Linked DNA regions of Homo sapiens: region 2 is linked to region 1. Evidence: promoter capture Hi-C in human tissues and cell types (Jung and others, 2019). All regions are on one chromosome and are shown on one strand. The core of a region is centred on a gene start or on the middle of the fragment in contact, and the rest is flanking DNA. Distances in the headings are between cores, read along the strand shown. Region 1 holds the start of OARD1 (O-acyl-ADP-ribose deacylase 1). Region 2 overlaps KIF6 (kinesin family member 6).

What was found. Contacts are between HindIII fragments. The study calls those that stand out against the background at their distance.
Region 2: a contact is called between a fragment that was not itself captured here and the fragment with the promoter of OARD1 in region 1, in 1 of the 25 tissues and cell types used here (dorsolateral prefrontal cortex).

The regions. Positions count from the first base shown.
Region 1 is chr6:41,070,500-41,074,686 of GRCh38, forward strand. It overlaps OARD1 (O-acyl-ADP-ribose deacylase 1), which reads right to left and starts at 1,857. Exons shown (of 6, transcript NM_001329686.2): 1 at 1,737-1,857; 2 at 1,097-1,176; 3 at 633-777. The coding sequence starts at 1,135. NFYA (nuclear transcription factor Y subunit alpha) reads left to right here and starts at 2,475. Exons shown (of 10, transcript NM_002505.5): 1 at 2,475-2,585. RefSeq lists enhancers at 1,876-2,085, 2,116-2,165 and silencers at 2,546-3,175, 3,206-3,365. The HindIII fragment of the contact is 6,789 bases long and covers 1-4,187 here.
Region 2 is chr6:39,436,491-39,440,799 of GRCh38, forward strand. All of the region lies in intron 13 of KIF6 (kinesin family member 6), which reads right to left. Among named protein-coding and RNA genes, the nearest start is that of KCNK16, 120 kb to the left of the region's middle. The HindIII fragment of the contact is 7,618 bases long and covers 1-4,309 here.

The DNA of each region.
Region 1 (4,187 bases), core at 607-3,106:
CATACAAAGAGCTGTATAAGGCATTATGAGGAATACAGATATATAAAAAAGGAATTAATTATTACAGAGTTTTCAATCCAGAGAAGATATCATCATTCCAAATAACTATAATACAAAGCAGTAAGAATTGCTTTTGTCTAAGGCTAAGAATCACTGTGGACACTGATGCTGTTAAGCCTGGAATGTGGTCGGAGAAACTGTTGCAGAAGCTTTACATAGGATTCTAGTGCACATTTCTGGTTTAAAGTGGCCCGTAGAAAGTGATGGGAGGGGTCTGTAAGGAAGAAGAGGTTTCTAAATTCCTCTTTGAAGAGAAAGCAGAATATTGGTAAGTAAAGGATCTTGAATGCCAACCTATAGACTAAGCATCTCAGAGTTATTTCAAGTTTCAGAGAAGTACAGTAATATCGTCAAGAAAGTTTCATGATACAAGAGGAAGAGATTAAAAACCTTCACAGGAGTTGGGTTTTGATATGGTAAACGTCTAAACTAGAGGCCATTCTTGGGGAGGAAAATCTTAAAAACATTTGGTTCTTAGGAATCCCCTCTTTACACGCATATTTTATTAAAGTGTAACAGATTAAAAGGTGCTCTAGCCAGGGCAAACCAGGTAAGTGGTTTCCAAAACTCACGTTGATTTAAAAGTTCTTGCACCCCTCCAAATTTCTTCTTAAAGAGGACAGCTATCCCAGCGCCCATGCGACAATCCTCACTGATACAGTGGGCTAAAGAGTCTGTTTTCGGGCATGCAAAAAGGTCTCCTTTCACATAAGTGATCTAAAAAATGTGCAAAGGAAAAGACAATGTTTTATTAGATACAGTAAAATACTAAGCTATTTTTCTGTATTTTGTGTCCCCCACGACTACCTCTCCCGGCACCCCTTCCTCCAATCTGATTTAAAGCCAAACCAATTACAGCATGTGTAAAAGGAAAGTAATGGATGATCCCTGCCTAGAATTTTGAGCCTTTTTAAAGTAAATCAGCTAGAGAGAAAAAAAGATAATGCAATCATTAATTTAATTAAAAAGTGTTTATGCTTTTGACCTCCATTATTACGAATTTCAGTTCACCAATAAGTCAATAGTTGTTACGCACTCTGCTTCCTTCTGGATCTTCATTAAGGCTGCTGGCCATGATACTGAGTCGCTATTTCCAGAATTTAAGTGTTTCTTCAGCTATGAGAAGGGAAAAGGAAGTAAAAATGCTTAGGCAGCCTTAGTATATAATATTCTGATTGCCCTGTACAACCACTTAATAGGCTTTTTTCCCCAACGTTTATCGATGAATGTGAGTTTGTTCGGCCCCTGGGACGTAATACAAAACCCTTCTGGGGCAAAGAGGAAGAACGCTTAGGTTCGGAGGCTGTCTCGACCCGCTCTCATTTCGTGCTTTCCTGGAGCGCCCCGCTCCGTCAGCGGAAGCAAAGCCCATCCCTAAGACACGCCTCCTCCTTTCTCCAGGGCCACTCCGGAGCAAGGCCGATTTAGGACGGTCTCCTTTTCTCTGCACGACGCAAAAGTATTTCCCCAGTGGGTCTGGCTTAGAAGAAAACAGAAGGGACTTGGCCACAGTCCCGTTAAGCCGCAACCACAGAGTGTACAGGGTACTGGCGTGCTGAGCCCCAGGCGTGGGGAAAGGAAGGCGGCCTCTCAAGGAACGTTCACCCCCCACTTTTTTGGGGGGTGCGTGGGAGAAGGAAAGAGTCTATTGAAGCCTCCCATTCTCTGTCTCCTACCCTAGGGCGGGTCAGCGAGGACGCAGTCTGTCCTGGGGTCCTATGGGAGGGTGCGGGGAGGCTCGCTCAAAGCCCCAACGTACCCAAGTCACCCTTCACCTGGAAAGGAGTCGGTTGTTTGGAGGTCCCCGCCCCGCGGGGAAGGGCTCCGGATCCGACCCTGGTAGGTGGGGAGCAGCGGACCAGCCCAAACGCGGAGCCAATCCCGCCAAAGCCCTTAATTGCACGCATCTAAGATGGCCGCCCCCGCCCGGTAGCGGGGCGGAAACGAGCCCCTCTAGCTTGCTAGCCGAGCCCACACTCTTTGGCGAAGGCCGCCGAACTTCCGGCAGTAAATTCCGTGGTTTCCCGCCGCCGCCCGCGCATGCGTAACGAAACTGCCCCACGAGTCGGGAAAAGTGGCGCTTGCGCATTAGCCGCAGGGGTGTGTCCTAGTGGCCACTTGGAAAGGGGTGGGCAGCTGGCAAAGGGGCTAGTTAGCGCCTGCGTAGTACTAAGCTCAAGGCAGCGTTTTGAGTTGAAGGGTCTGGCGCGTCTGGAAAGCGCCTGCGTATTCCTTTCACTGGGGGTGGTGTCAAAGCGGGAAGGTGGGCGTGGCTTCAGGGAACGCCTGCGCGTTGCTCCTCCGAAGGGGTGGGGCGATCCCTGAACTGGAGTTAGTGGGCGTGGCCTCAGAGGCGCCTGCGCGGAGGCGGTTGGAGGGAGGCCCGATTCCCCTTTGTTCGGGTTCGCCATTTTGCTAGGCAGCGGCAGTGGCGGCGGCAGCGGCGGCTGGAGCCTCTGATTGGGTTTCGGAGTCCGGTACTGGAGCCAATCAGCGCGGGCAGCGAACCGGGGGAGCGAGGCACGGTGAGTGTGAGGAGCCAATATCCAGCGGCCCAGAGCCGGCCCCAGCGCCCCGATTGGCGGGTCTCGCTGACCACTCAGGAGAGGCCCAGGCGCCCGTCGAGCCCGGGGAGTCGAGCTGAGCCTAGCCGAGCCGGGCGGCCAGCGGCCCCGGCCCGGGGCCTGCGAGCGCCTCGGGGCACTCCCGGCCGAGGCCTGCAGGGGCCGCCCCGCGCGGGGATGGCGCCTCGGGGAGCAGGCACCTCGGGGCTCCGACCCTCGCAGGGTGCCAGGGCCAGTTGGGAATGCGTCCCTGTTCCCCGACTCAGGCCCAGGTTCTCAGGCCCCAGGCCTGGGGCCACGAATGGCCCTACACTAGGGGACACATGCGCGCCCTGGGCCTCGGCGATTTCCTCCTGGTCGTTCTGGCCGCAAACTTAAACCTGCCCTTGCACTCTCCACTCTCCGGCCCTTGGGACAGGAAGCCTCCCCGGGGCCCGCGCCCCCCGCTCCCCGCTCCCAGCGAGCCGGGTCTGTCTTATCTGCAGCCCCTCTAGGTCGGGAGGGAGGCCTGGGGAGGGTGCGCGCCGCGGCCGCGGGGTCCCGTGTGCGGCTGGCAACGGGGCTGGCCCGCCCACGCCTCGGAGCCCTATGGGCCCGCCCCCGCTGTCTCCCTGGTGGGGAGAGGGGGCCGTTAGTTCGCCCACTCCCCCTGCTCCGCCGCGCCCCTCCTCCCAGCCCGCTCCGCCCGGGTCTCCGGCCCGGCGCCGTTACCACCCCTTTTGGCTCGTCATTTCCTCTCTTCCCCGCCCCGTTCGCAGTGGCAGGACCGCACACCTCCGTCTTGGAGCCCAACCAAGCGGTCTCCGTTTCTTGTCCGGGCTGTAAGACCAGTCCATTCGGTGCCTGGAACCTCACTCTTAGAAGATTGATACCCTTGCGCATTCTTTCCGGAGGCTGCACAACTTGCTGTTCATATTACTAATCTTATCCACTGCTCATTTTGTGAAATCTCCCTCCCTTGGGAATATAGTACAGTTTTGGGGGTTTTTTTTCCCTTTGTTTTTGCCTTCGCCTTTCTATGTTACTTTGTGTCAGGCTTGACCCAGTCCACTCATCTCTTGGTTTATGTTTTTCTGATACACTTTCAAGTCCTGTGTTAACGTTTTCTCAGCAGATGTTTAGAAACTAACAGTGTTGTGGGGTTTTCCTTAGGGTGAGAGGTTGCTGTTGGCAACCAATTATCCAGCAGTTAGTATATGCCAGGTATAATCCGTGTGTTAGGGAGGGAGTACGTAGAGGTCAATAAGAACTGTGCCTACCTGATGGAAATTGACAGGTGAACAGGTAGTTAATACCTAACGGTTAGTGCTATAAAGGGGCCAAGTTCAGTTGCTGTGAAGTATCCATGCGTGAGCTAGCCTCCGTGAAAGGCTTATCACCACCGCACTTTTGACTGGCCTTGAAGAATGATGGTAATTCTTCCACAGGAAAGATGGAAGAGCTTGCTCGAAGAGAAGAAAAGCATGTGCAGAGGAATCAAATTACACTGTTGGAGGCAGGAAGATGGGATAGGGAAGTGGGCAGTAGTTGTGATAGTTTAGGGGGGAAAGCCCAGTTGGTAAA
Region 2 (4,309 bases), core at 1,358-3,857, 1.6 Mb before region 1:
TGGCTTCAAGTCTTAGATTTAAGTCTTTAATCCATCTTGAGTTAATCTTTGTATATGGTGAGACATAGGGATCCAATTTTATTCTTCTACATGTGGCTATCCAATTTTCCAAGTACCATTTATTAAATATAGTGTCCTTTCCCCAGTGTATGTTTTTGTCTGCATTGTCAAAGATCAGTTGGTTGTAAATATTTGCTTTATTTCTGCATTCTCTATTCTGTTCCATTGGTCTGTGTGTCTACTTTTACATCAGTACCATGCTGTTTTGGTTATTATAGCTTTGTAGTGTAATTTGAAATCTGGTAATGTAATTCCTCCAGATTTGTTCTTTTTGCTTAGGATTGCTTTGGCTATTCAGGCTCTTTTTTTGGTTCCATATTAATTTTAGGAGTTTTTTTCTAATTTTGTGAAAAGTGATATTAGTATTTTGATAGGAATTGCACTGAATCTGTAGATTGCTTTAGGCAGTATTGTCATTTTCACAACATTAATTCTTCTGATTCATGAGCATGGGATGTTTTTCCATTTGTTTGTGTCATCTATGTTTTTTTTCATCAGTATTTTGTAGTTCTCCTTGTAGAGATTTTTCACCTCATTTGTTACATATATTTCTAGGTATTTTATATATTTTTTGTGGCTATTGTAAAAGGGATTGAGTTCTTCATTTGAGTCTCAGCTTGGTCCTTGTTGATGTAAGCAGAACTACTGATTTGTCTACATTTATTTTGTAAACTGAGGCTTTACTGAATTCATTTATCAAATCTAGCAATCTTTCAGAGAAGTCTTTAGGATTTTCTAGGTATAAGATCATATCATTGGCAAACAGTGATAGTTTGACTTTCTCTTTTCCAATTTGGATAAAAGCAAGGATTTTTGTCAGTTTTGTTTGCAGCAATATTTCTAGAATCCAGATAGTACTTGGCATACAAGAGCACTATAGCATATTTGGCACACAAAATATCTTTTGAATGAATGAATGAATGAAAAAGTGCTTTAGATGCTTAACGTCTTTCCTTCTGGATAGCATATTGTGATGGTGTGAAAAATGAGGCATGTATCCATTGCTCTCTCTCTCTCTGCCACCATGCTACTGGACAGTTTCATCTCCTACATAGTATGATTTTAGAAATTCAGCACCATCTTCTCCCCAGTACATGTCACCATGCTTACTGGCCCACCATTAGAGATGAATTCCAACTCCAAGAAGCTTTTATAAAAATGCAACTACAGTCCTGCCCCACATAAAGACGTTTCAATCAATGGTGAACTGCATGTACGACGGTGGTCCCATATGGTGTCATAGTTGTCATAATGTCATAGTGCAACACATTTGTCACATGTTTGTGGTGATGCTGGTGTAAATAAACCTACTGTGATGCCAGTTGTATAAAAATATTGCGTATATAATTATATACGGTACATAATACTTGATAATAAATGACTATTTTACTGATTTATGTATTTACTATACTTTATTTATTTATTTAATTATTTATTTATTTTTGAGACAGAGTGTCACTCTTGTTGCCCAGGCAGGAGTGCAGTGGCCTGATCTTGGCTCACTGCAACTTCTGCCTCCTGGGTTCAAGCGATTCTCCTGTCTCAGCCACCCGAGTAACAGGGATTTGTCCGCCACCACGCTCGGCTAACTTTTTGTATTTTTAGTAGAGATGAGATTTCACCATGTTGACCAGGCTGGTCTCGAACTCCTGACCTCAGGTGATCCACCTGCCTCAGCCTCCCAAAGTACTGGGATTACAGGTGTGAGCCACTGCGCCTGGCCTATACTATACTTTTTATCATTATTTTAGAGTGTACTTCTTCTACTTATAAGTTAACTGTAAAAAAGCCTTGGGCAGGTCCTTCAGGAAGTATTCCAGAAGAAGGCATTGTTATCATAGGAGATGAGAGCTCCATGTGTGTTACTGCCCCTGAAGACCTTCCAGTGGGACAAGGTGTGGAGGTGGAAGACAGTGACACTGAAGGTCCTGACACTGTGTCTTCATTTTTAACAAAAAAGTCTAAAAGCTTAAAAAAAATGAAAAATTTTTAAAATAGGGAAAAGCTGATAGAATAAAGATATAAAGAAAAAAATATTTTTGTACAGCTGTATAATGTGTGTTTTAAGCTAAGTGTTATTACAGAATTAAAAAGTTAAAAAAATTAGGCTTATAAGATAAAAAGTTACAGTAAGCTAAGGTTAATTTATTATTGAAATATTAGTAAAAATGAATTTAGTGTAGCTTAAGTGTACAGTGTTTATAAAATACACATAGTGTACAGTAATGTTCTAGGCCTTCACACTCACTCACCACTCACTGGCTCACCCAAACCAACTCCGTCCTTCAAGTTCCATTCATGGTAACTGCCCTGTACAGGTGTTTTTATTTTTATACTGCATTGTTACTGTACTATTTCTATGTATAGACACACAAATGCTTACCATTGTGTTACAATTGCCTACAGTATTCAGTACAGTAACATGCTGTACAGGTTTGTAGCTGAGGAGCATTAGTTTATCCCATCTAGCCTAGGTGTGTAGTAGTCTATACTATCTAGGTTTCTTTAAGTACACACTATGATGTTCACAAAATGATGAAGTCACCTTATGACGCATTTCTCAAAATGTATCTCAGTTGTTAAGTGACACAAGACTATACTCTTGAAGGTATCATTATTTCAGTGCTAGCAAAGAAAAATTCCACAATTTATTGACAATTAGCTAAGAGGTACTGCAAAGACATACATTTTATCTTCTTCCCAACTTTGTTTAGTCTGTCAGACTCAGCTCCTCAACAGAGCTGAGGACCTTGGGAACTTGCCATGCTCATTTCTAGAGCTCATTTCTTAGTTGTTTGCTTTTAGTGAATTTTAATCACAGGTTCCCAGCGCTGGATCCCTGAAATATGAATGATTAAGAGAAGCCTGCTGGCTTGCTGAGTTACAGAACCATTTAAAACCTAAAAGAGAGGAATTTCTGAGTCTCATTCTCCAAAAGACGACATTGCAATTTCGGTTGTAAGTTGGATGGAAAATATTTGCAAGTCCCAAAGGTGTAATCTCTTCTGAACTTTGATAGTGGTCAAAGAGCACATAGGTAGAAATGGTAGTCAACAAGGGGCTTTCAACATCAGCCTCAGGGTTGGGTTTCTGAAACATTAGGCATCCAAATTCTTGTGCGCTGGTCCCTTACCCACTTCTTAATGCTTTCTTTTTTTTTCAACCTGAAATTCAGTTCCTTATTTTGCTAACGAATACAACTTGGTACTTTGGGAAGCCCTCCCCATCCCCAACACAGGGTCCCATGGAAACCAAATGGAAAGGAAAAACATCGGAAGTGGAGAGTTTATGCTATTGCCTTTGGGCCTGCGGTCTGATTTCCTTTAGTCTGGGGTACATGGGCCAGAGCTTATTTTCCTGGCTGCTCCTAAACAACCTACTGCTGCTTAAGCTATTGCTTAAAAATTGACAAAAGTACAATGATGGAGAGAGTTGTGTTATTCATGCTGAAAAATGATTTCCTAGTCGGAGCCAAAAATATATTTTCCTTGGGAGATATTCACTCGCGTGGGGCCTCGGTTCCCTCTGACTAAAGAAGAGAGGGATGAGAAGAAGACCAGCAGGGGACGATGAACAGTGAGAAGGGGGGTGGATTCCAAGGAGATGGGGGTTTGGAACACACTGTTTGGGACTGAAAGCATGAGAAGGCTCAGAGCTGGGTGGGGAGCATGTGGTGCTAAGGCAGGAAGGAAGCTGATGATTCACGGTGGGAATCGTATTGAAGGATGATTATACTCTGTGGCTCAATAGTGGAAGCTCTTTAAATTGAAGGTAAGGGAACAGCTCTGATACCACAGTATGATGAATACCTACAACGTGTAGAATCTGGAGGTGCATACAAGAATGAGAAGCAATGGGCAGAGATCAAGTGTGTTTTTTGTATGGTGCCTGAAATAACCTTCTATCTGAAGTGAAATTTCTTGGTAAGTGTTGACTTGGGTGAAATAGACAAAAATATCGTCACCTAAATAATTAGAAGAGAATTCCATTTCAGTGTGTTCCAAACCCCTGTCTCCTTGGAATCCAGCACCCCCTCACTGTTCATCGTCCCCTGTTGGTCTTCTCTCCCCTCTCTTCTTTAGTTGGAGAGAACTGAGGTCCCTGAGTGTGTGGAGAAGGTAGAATGAACGGGTTGATGGGAGGAAAAGGAAATAAGGATTTAGAAGAGAGACAAGGCAGAGCTGAGGAAGGGATAATCTATCGAGCTGTAGCATGAAATATAAAGGTCAAGAGGGATAGGAAGGTCAGG